Linked DNA regions of Homo sapiens: all the other regions are linked to region 3. The links are contacts of gene promoters, found by promoter capture Hi-C in blood cells and fetal thymus (Javierre and others, 2016). All regions are on one chromosome and are shown on one strand. Each heading gives the region's core, a stretch centred on a gene start or on the middle of the fragment in contact. The rest is flanking DNA. Distances are from core to core; before and after follow the strand shown. Region 1 overlaps ZDHHC5 (zDHHC palmitoyltransferase 5). Region 2 overlaps CTNND1 (catenin delta 1). Region 3 holds the start of ZFP91 (ZFP91 zinc finger protein, atypical E3 ubiquitin ligase).

Evidence for each region. Contacts are between HindIII fragments. The CHiCAGO score rates a contact against its expected background, and 5 or more counts as called.
Region 1: a contact is called between a fragment that was not itself captured here and the fragment with the promoter of ZFP91 in region 3, in 2 of 17 cell types (naive CD8 T cells and total CD8 T cells). The highest score is 6.2, in naive CD8 T cells.
Region 2: a fragment that was not itself captured here is called in contact with the fragment with the promoter of ZFP91 in region 3 in 1 of 17 cell types (non-activated CD4 T cells); the score reaches 5.6 in non-activated CD4 T cells.

What each region holds. Positions count from the first base shown.
Region 1 is chr11:57,680,283-57,683,401 of GRCh38, forward strand. ZDHHC5 (zDHHC palmitoyltransferase 5) reads left to right here. Exons shown (of 12, transcript NM_015457.3): 3 at 2,140-2,261. Among named protein-coding and RNA genes, the nearest start is that of ZDHHC5, 14 kb to the left of the region's middle. The HindIII fragment of the contact is 2,243 bases long and covers 581-2,823 here.
Region 2 is chr11:57,801,724-57,804,761 of GRCh38, forward strand. It overlaps CTNND1 (catenin delta 1), which reads left to right. Exons shown (of 21, transcript NM_001085458.2): 7 at 10-473; 8 at 1,898-2,081; 9 at 2,940-3,038. It overlaps TMX2-CTNND1 (TMX2-CTNND1 readthrough (NMD candidate)), which reads left to right. Exons shown (of 21, transcript NR_037646.1): 8 at 10-473; 9 at 1,898-2,081; 10 at 2,940-3,038. Among named protein-coding and RNA genes, the nearest start is that of CTNND1, 41 kb to the left of the region's middle. The HindIII fragment of the contact is 801 bases long and covers 962-1,762 here.
Region 3 is chr11:58,577,723-58,580,773 of GRCh38, forward strand. ZFP91 (ZFP91 zinc finger protein, atypical E3 ubiquitin ligase) reads left to right here and starts at 1,341. Exons shown (of 11, transcript NM_053023.5): 1 at 1,341-1,900. The coding sequence starts at 1,560. It overlaps ZFP91-CNTF (ZFP91-CNTF readthrough (NMD candidate)), which reads left to right and starts at 1,392. Exons shown (of 13, transcript NR_024091.1): 1 at 1,392-1,900. It also overlaps a transcript of LPXN not described here. RefSeq lists enhancers at 95-174, 195-714, 333-1,025, 745-974, 1,719-2,410 and a silencer at 1,395-1,814. The HindIII fragment of the contact is 10,569 bases long and covers 1-3,051 here.

The sequences.
Region 1 (3,119 bases), core at 452-2,951, 900 kb before region 3:
GGGAGGATCACTGGAGCTCAGGAGTTTGAGGCTGCAGTGAGCTGTGATCTTGCCACTACACTCCAGCCTGGGCAAGAGAGCGAGACCCTGTCTCAAAAAACAAAACTGAAGAAAGAGTCGAGTCAGAAAGATTGACATGGGCCTGCAGGAGGTTTCATATCTTGTTCTTACTCTCATTAGTTTCTCTCAGAGATGGAAACTAAGGTGAATATTTCTTTCAGAAGCTCAAGAGGCCACAGTGGCCAGTTGTAGGAATGAGACTTTTAAATCATGGGCACCTCAGTGTTCTAAGGATTTAATTTCTTTTTCCCTTCTAATTATCTTCCCAGGCTGTAGGAGTCAAGTGAGTCACCCTTTCTCTTCTTCCCCAGGCGGAAATTGAAGTGACAACTTAGTACTAGGGAGGGGCTCTGACCTGGATGACTGGTTTTCAGTTTCTCTCCCTCCTTCTTAAGGAACCTAGGAGGTCAGGCTTTGGGGTGAGGCGGTGCAGGAACTCTTCTTTTTGCTTATATTCCACTCCAAACCCTGCCAATGTATGGAGACATCTTTTCTGAACCAAAGAACTCACAGAGGAAGAAGCTTCCATGGGGGGCTTTCTTTGAGGATAGTATAGAACTATGACTGAAGGTCTGTTTAGTCCCTAAAATTGATGCCCTTGCTCCAGCTTCGTTATTTTGTCTGCTAATTGTGTACTGACATATCAAGAGAACCAAACAGCTAATGGATATTTACTATCTAAAAAGCCTGGCATATAATAAATACTAAAAACTTTTCAAAATGAATGGCTGAATGGAATTTGAATAAATAGATGGTGGTGGTAAAGATTTGTGAGATGCTTTGTGACAGTTTTGTCTCTTATCTTGATTTGCTTGTATCTCGTTAAGGAACTGAGTTCCTCCAAACTGCTCTGAGTCAGTCTCAGGGCTGTGCTTTTTGTTTTGGTGGGTGCAGATACCTTTTCTTCACAGAATCCCAGACTGCTGTGGTTTAATTCTCTGGAATCATATGCTGTCTTGTTCTCCTGTCCTCTTCTTCCTTTCCTTCAGTGAGTTCTTCCTTTGCTTTGACTGGTTCAGATAAAGGGGACAAGGACAGATGCTGTCCTCATTCTGGAGATTAAGTTCTCAGCCACAAAGTAGATTAGAGTATTTATCCACTGTCTTGGTAGTGGGAACTTCTCCCTGAGCTGAGACGAGAGTGTTTGATACTACTGACAAAAAAGTAGCACATCAGGTTCTTCCAAAACTTCCAGCTCCCAGGAAATCAGCAGAGAAAGGAAGAGCTCTTGAAGCATTCCTACGTAGATTCAAATCCTGAAAGAAACTGAGTTTAATTCTGGACTAGAGAATTGTTTTTTTGATCAAGAAAAGTTACCTTAAAGCATATCTTGAGTTGACTGCTGTGGAATACTGGGTATGTTTGGGTAGTTTCTTTTTCCTACAAAATTGAGGGCTTCTTTGGTCTGATAGTCTCTATCCTCCCCCATTCCTGCTTCATTTTTAGACATCAAAGGGTTTACTTCTGTGTCTTGATATCCATTCTCATCTGTGTGTTTTAAAAGAATTTCCCAACCTTAAGAACTGGCCTGTAGTTGAGTAAACTCTCAGGCATATCCAATGCAATGGAGATACTTTAGGCACTTATGTGGTTCAGTCCCCTGGCAAGGGGGAGGCGGGGGCTAGAAAGGTAGGTGGTATCCCATGCTTTGGGCCAATGTGCAGGTCAATGGGACATAGCTGGGATCCAGAAACCTCAGGCTGCTCCAGAGAAGGGAGTGTAGCTGATATCATAGTCAGTACCTGGTTCTCATGTCTGGTTAGAAAGGAGATAAGGACAGATCTCAAAACATGTGGCAAGATCCACAGGGTAGGAATGAATCTGAAGCACAAAGACCTTAGTGCAACAGGTTAAGATGGGAGAGATTCTGAGTCTTGTACTTTTATCTAAAGTGAGCAGTTCCCATAGGAAACTAGACTCACTTAGTGGGAAAGATAAAGATAATAATTTGGGATGGCAAAGGTAAACCACACAAGATTTATCTATAGGTAAGGGGCTAAGTCTTTACAGATTTTTGTATGTATGGTTCGTGTCCAAAATATTAGAGGCAACCCCTCATTTTCTTTATTGTCTGTGCAGGTGTCCAGGACTAAGCCTGTATGTGTCACCTGCAGTGCCCATCTACAATGCAATTATGTTTCTCTTTGTGTTGGCCAACTTCAGCATGGCCACCTTCATGGACCCAGGGATTTTCCCTCGAGGTAAGATCTGCTTCTCTCTTAGAAGCACCTTACACTGCCTTTGAAAAATAATGAGTTGGCCATACACAGTTGATCTTGGGCCTTAAGAGTCCTGGGATTTTGGGATATGAAAAATAATGATTTGGGCATACGCAGTTGATCTTGGGCCTTAAAGTCCGGGGATTTTGGGATACTTTTATCATTTTCTGATGATGAAAATCAGGTCAGGGTCTTTAGGAATATATGTCATAACTTCTAGTCCTATGATTCACTTTGGGTCAAATCTTTGAGTTTTAGTGATTTGTTCAGCAGAAATTTATTTAAAGCATATGGGTTGGATGCTATTTTTAGGTACAGTAATACCCACAGTGAATTAAGACAGTTATGACAGTGTGATGCAGACTATAATGGAGGCAAGAGCAAGGTTCTGTGAGAATACAAACAATTGAGAACAAAGAAATATGAGAACATATTTTGCCCAAATAAATTGGGGAAATGCTGCTGAAAATAGGTGGGAAAGACTTTACCAAGTAGAATATAGGAGGGAAGGGCATTTTTAGGCAGAGGAAACAGCACATGCAGAAGCTTGTAGCCATGAAATGGCAAACTTAGTGGGGCTAGAGGATGTTATGCATGGTGTGACCAGAGGGATGGGAGGTAAACCCAGAGCCAAATTGTCAAGGACTTTACATACTAAGTTAAATAGATCATACATTTTCCTTTGGATAGGAAGAGGTCTTTAATTGGAGGACTCAACATCAGAATTCCTTTTAGAAAAATAATTCGTGTAAGAATTACAGCTACCTTTTGGGAGGCTGTGGAAATAAACCAGATGAGAACTTGAATTCAAGGCTGGATTTACAGATTTTTTAGTAGTAG
Region 2 (3,038 bases), core at 112-2,611, 780 kb before region 3:
ACTTCTCAGGAGCTATGAAGACATGATTGGTGAGGAGGTGCCATCGGATCAATACTACTGGGCTCCTTTGGCCCAGCATGAGCGAGGAAGTTTAGCAAGCTTGGATAGCCTGCGCAAAGGAGGGCCTCCACCTCCTAATTGGAGACAGCCAGAGCTGCCAGAGGTGATCGCCATGCTTGGATTCCGCTTGGATGCTGTCAAGTCCAATGCAGCTGCATACCTGCAACACTTATGCTACCGCAATGACAAGGTGAAGACTGACGTGCGGAAGCTCAAGGGCATCCCAGTACTGGTGGGATTGTTAGACCATCCCAAAAAGGAAGTGCACCTTGGAGCCTGTGGAGCTCTCAAGAATATCTCTTTTGGACGTGACCAGGATAACAAGATTGCCATAAAAAACTGTGATGGTGTGCCTGCCCTTGTGCGATTGCTTCGAAAGGCTCGTGATATGGACCTTACTGAAGTTATTACCGGTGAGTTCTAGGCCTAAGGAAAATTGCTAAGTCAGTGTTACTCTCTAGTGATGTTGAGAACTAGAGGGATTTCCAGACCTTTTACTTTTGATGAAAGGTTGTGAACTGGTGGCTGTGGGTCAAATCCATCTCACAGATTTGTTTGGATCACACAGCATTATTGAAATTTTAAAGAACTGGTTGCTGATGTTTAAAATTCAGAAGATTTCACTTAAAATTCCAGATTCTTGGCTTCTATTAAAAACGTGGAAGAGTTGTTAACAATGGATCTCTTTTCTTCCTTAGCAGTATTTGGTCTGAACTGATTGGAGCATGTGCTCTCTAATTTACACTAATCTCCAACACATTCTATTATCTGACCAACTACAGCTGTTTAGGAAGTTGTTTCCCAAACATGGAGCTGTCAACTGCTATTTTTTCACATGCTTGTAATTTCTTTTAATTATCTTCCTCTCTTGACTCACCGGCTTGACCCATATAGACATTTAAGCTTGTGGTTCTTGCTTTATTTAGAGCAGTAGTTTTTCAGATTGTGGGTTGTGATCTATTTGTGTGATCCGTTAGTGAATAAAACAAAATTTTGTGGAGCATAATCAGCATTCCAAGGGAAAGGAATAAAGAAAAAGTAGTATAGACCATTGTTTCTCAGTTGTGGGCCATTTTGCCTGCCCTGCCCTGAGGACATTTGGACATTTGCAGTGTTGGAGATATTTTTGGTTGTTATAACTTGGAACAGGGGAGAGGGAGTGCTACTGGCATCTAGTGAGTAAAGGCCAGGGGTACTGGTAAACATCCAACAATAGACAAGACAGCTCCTCATAACAAAGAATCATCTGGCCGAAAATGTCAGTGGTGCTGAGGTTGAAAAACTCTGGTATAGACAGATCGGAGAGCATTGAGCATTGCTTATAGTTTTGTTTGTTTTTTTTGAGATGGAGTCTCGCTCTGTCACCCAGGCTGGAGTGCAGTGGCACAATCTCAGCTCACCGCAAGCTCCGCCTCATGGGTTCACGCCATTCTCCTGCCTCAGCCTCCCAAGTAGCTGGGACTACAGGTGCCCGCCACCACGCCCGGCTAATTTTTTGTATTTTTAGTGTTAGCCAGGATGGTCTTGATCTCCCAACCTTGTGATCCGCCCGCCTTGGCCTCCCAAATTGCTGGGATTACAGGCGTGAGCCACCACACCCAGCCTGAGCGTTGCTTATAGTTAAACATTGTTTGTTTCATGATCTGTATGTTTATTTTGAGCTATAATGTAGAATATGTTTCTTGGTGAGGGTCGCAAACAAAGCTTGAATATTACTATAAGGTATTTGGTCACTGGGGAAGACTGAGAAGTGATACGATAGGGGGATTCTCTTTGACGTTCTTCAGACATATTGTCTTGAATGCTCAAGAGCCATCTGATGAATTGTCTCTTCCAGGAACCCTGTGGAATCTTTCATCCCATGACTCAATCAAAATGGAGATTGTGGACCATGCACTGCATGCCTTGACAGATGAAGTGATCATTCCTCATTCTGGTTGGGAGCGGGAACCTAATGAAGACTGTAAGCCACGCCACATTGAGTGGGAATCGGTGCTCACCAACACAGCTGGCTGCCTTAGGTAACAGTAGGGACTTTGAGAATATGAAGATGAATTTTTGAGGACTGACTTAAATTTCCTAAAAAAAAAAAAAAATTAAAATTCTTTAGCCTATTCTTTAGCCTCCATTCCTATCTGTATTGCATACTGTAACTCCAACCTTTCTATCTTTGTTGCTATTCTCTCATGTATACCACATGTACCTATATCAGTTTTCTTGCTGTTCCCCACACATCCTCTTCACTTTTATGCCTCTTTGACTTTGTTCATCTACTTTGGTAAGCTTTTGTTCAGCATCTACCACATGTAAGGTGGTCTAGTCCTGGACTTGTGTGTGTCTATGTCCTTGCCCTAGTTATTTGTATTTCAAGTCAGGCTGTGATAAATTCAGCAAAAGGGGTACAGAGTACTAGGAGGTTAGGGCATGGGTGAGGAAGGTCTGTTCTTTCTGTGATGCCTTTCTCTTCTTATTTATCTTTTTGTGGTTAAACTCAAGTGCCTTTATTTTATTAAAGTTTTCCTGAATTCTTTTTATATCCTATAAATGCTGCTATATAATCTTTCTCTCTTTGGAATACACCTCTGTGTGCTGTGTTCCATTCTACATATGTATTATATACTTCCATACGAGAAGTATATATTCCATCTTGAATTACTGCATCTGGTACATATCATTAATCCCTACCCCACAGTGATATAAACATTCAGAAGGCAGGGACTGTTAATCAACTTTCTCTCAACTGCAGTACCTTGCTTATAATAGGTATTTACTATTACAGTGAGTAGAAAAACATATTCAGGAATCTTGTAGGTGTTGAGGGATATTTAAGGGAGGATTTCTGGATTTGAGTCATCTTGAAGCTTCTGGTTTCCCCTCAGGAATGTAAGCTCAGAGAGGAGTGAAGCTCGCCGGAAACTTCGGGAATGTGATGGTTTAGTTGATGCCCTCATTTTCATTGTTCAGGCTGAGATTGGGCA
Region 3 (3,051 bases), core at 91-2,590:
CCGCAGAGCTTAAGAGACCCTTCAGCTTCTCGGTGTAGGTCACCAGTCATGTCACGCTCACAACCCTTTCGCCTCCCTCTAGGTCAGGCACCGCATCCAAGTTAAGCAACCGACGCCGGCTCCTTGGTGTCCCAACAAGGTCTAGTAGAAAAGCAACTTTATAATTCGTTTCACAGATTTGATTAAGAGCCAACTGAGTAGTGGGCCTTGTGCTAGGGCTCCGAGGGCCCAAGGACCCCATGGAACCAGATTTAGTCGCTGACCTCTAGGAGCTCACAGGTGAGTGACTCACACACCGGAAGACGAGATCAATAATGTAGACATGAACGCTGGCTAGCCAGTCCCAGAGGAGGTGTCATCTGACCAAACCAAGGCAAGTCTGGGCAGTTACGCAGACACCCCGAGAAAGGTACGCCAACGCCCAGATAAAAAGTAAGAAAAAGTAGGAAAAACCCTCCCATCAGACCAGCAATTGGCTCGACGCTTGAGCCCGGATGTACGGCACGCGTCGCGACCTAACCCGGAAACACTGCCTCCCGAAAAAAAGGTAAACTCTAGACTGCGGAAAGTAAACTACCTTTCCCGTCGTGACTCAGTTAGAACCTCCCGGCATCCTCTCCACCTCTGGTTTCCCATCTATTTTTCCTAAAGCCTAGGCGAAATAAGACTTCATCTCCCAGAATGCCCTTGGTTAAGTTAACGGTGCGCATGCGCCAAGAGGCGGGCCCTCGTTGCCCCCACAACCCCGCCTCCGTTTTGCCGCCGCCATTTTTTCAGAGACTTTCATCCGGCAACCGACGGGGCTTTTTTTCTTAAAGGAGAAGCGACAGCTCAAAATACTACCCCCTTCTCCGCGCAAGATCTGGCGGCGCTGGGGACAGAAAGGCCAAAGACAGGAAAGTGGGGTAGGGTGGAGGCGGAAGAACGCCCAGGCTACTTCTGCGGCCTAAAGAAGAATAGAAAGAGCCCTTGTGGTATCAGTGGCTCCTCAGGGAGGCAGGTGCGCGCGCAGCCAGTCTAGGGTTTGCGTGAGGCGGGGAAAGAGGTGCGATTTCTTCTCACCCGCCTCCCTCGCGAGACCTGCCCCTCGCACTGCCCCTAGCGCGCGTTGAAGTCTGGAGGGGGGAAAAAGGTCACTTTGGGATTGTCGCGAGACACAGCCGTTTAACGGTGAGAACGGGTGCGCGGGGAAGGAAACCTCGCGCGCTCCCCTTTTAGCCGTTTCCTGATTGGCTGAAGGAAGGGGTGGGGGAGGGAACCTGGGGCGCCGCTGCGTGTAAGACTGCGAGGGGCGGGGTGAGGAGGCTTGTCCTCTTTTCCGATTGGCCCGCTGAGCGTCTGTGGCGCGCGCGCGCGCGCCGCCAGCGGTAGCGGACCTTGAGTGGCAGGGGGTGGGGGGGGCGCCCTCGGAGCCGGGCGGAGGGGAGGGGGGAAAGAGGAGCGCAGGGTGAGAGTGAGCCGCAGGCTTCGGGAGGCGAGGGGGCGGGGGGAGCAGCGCCGAGGCCGCCGCCTCCGCCTCCGCCGCCTAGGACTAGGGGGTGGGGGACGGACAAGCCCCGATGCCGGGGGAGACGGAAGAGCCGAGACCCCCGGAGCAGCAGGACCAGGAAGGGGGAGAGGCGGCCAAGGCGGCTCCGGAGGAGCCCCAACAACGGCCCCCTGAGGCGGTCGCGGCGGCGCCTGCAGGGACCACTAGCAGCCGCGTGCTGAGGGGAGGTCGGGACCGAGGCCGGGCCGCTGCGGCCGCCGCCGCCGCAGCTGTGTCCCGCCGGAGGAAGGCCGAGTATCCCCGCCGGCGGAGGAGCAGCCCCAGCGCCAGGCCTCCCGACGTCCCCGGGCAGCAGCCCCAGGCCGCGAAGTCCCCGTCTCCAGTTCAGGGCAAGAAGAGTCCGCGACTCCTGTGAGTAACAGTCTTTCAGGCGGTGGGAAAGACCCCCCTCTGTCCGTACGCAACCCTCTCGGCTCCCGTAGCGCCTACTCCACGTGACATCCTGCCTGGTCTGCCCCCTGCCGGCTCCGCACGCCAGATGTCACACCGTTTCCCCGGGAGCCTTCGTGCCTCCTCTCTGCGCCACCCTCATCTCGCTCCTGTACCTTCGCTTGTCGGGCCGTTTCCCCACTCCCCGAAATCATCTTTTGATACACCCCTGCACTCGCTAGTGATCCACCTCCTCCCTGACACCCGCAGGCTCATCCCTCTTTCTGGCATCCGCACCCCCTTTGTCACCCTATCCCTTTCCTTTAGGCGGCTCTCCAGTATTACATCACATGCCCTTTAGGGAATACACAGCCCGATCATAGCCTTCAAAAATGATTCCCCCCCGCCTTCGCGTTAGCTCAAGAGCCAGATGTACTAGTGTGTTTATGTAGCTTTTTTTTTTTTTCACTTTTCTAAATTTTTCGCAACCCTTCTCATTCTTTTGAGAAATTTGCCACTTATTATGGTCAGGTTAAAAGCCCACTGCTACGATTTTAAGTATGGAGTCTTTCATATAAAATTATATGAGCATTCTTTAATGTTTGTTTTTACTAAGTAGCATATGTTTTATCTTTGTGTTTCGTGTTTTTAAATGTAGGAACTTCATCCTTGAAATTAGAATCATCTGAGAGGAATTCCTTTATTACCTAGACGTAATAGAGGAAACATGAACAGGTGGCCAGGAGCATTGTCTTAAATTGTTCGTTAAAATAATACTCATGTTAAGAATACTGAAGCACACAAGTTTGTAAATTCTAGAAATTAATCACATTGACTATTCAATTCATGACTGAAAACATCATTAGTGACCTTTGATTTTTGAGTGAAAACAGATTAGTAAAAACAGAGAAAATTGAAGTGAGGGGGAGTCAGTTTTAAGTGTTCCCTTTCTTCCAGTAGAGATAGTGGCAAGGTTTGACTTACACCAGACCTAATAGATTTAAAACTTGAAACAGACTTGGTCCAAAATTAAGAGTTAAGCCTGTGTCTTGGCATGCTTGCCTTAGAAGCCTCTCAGAAAGAGAAATAAAATTCAGAGGTAATCATATTGTGGTATTAGATATGCTTTCAAA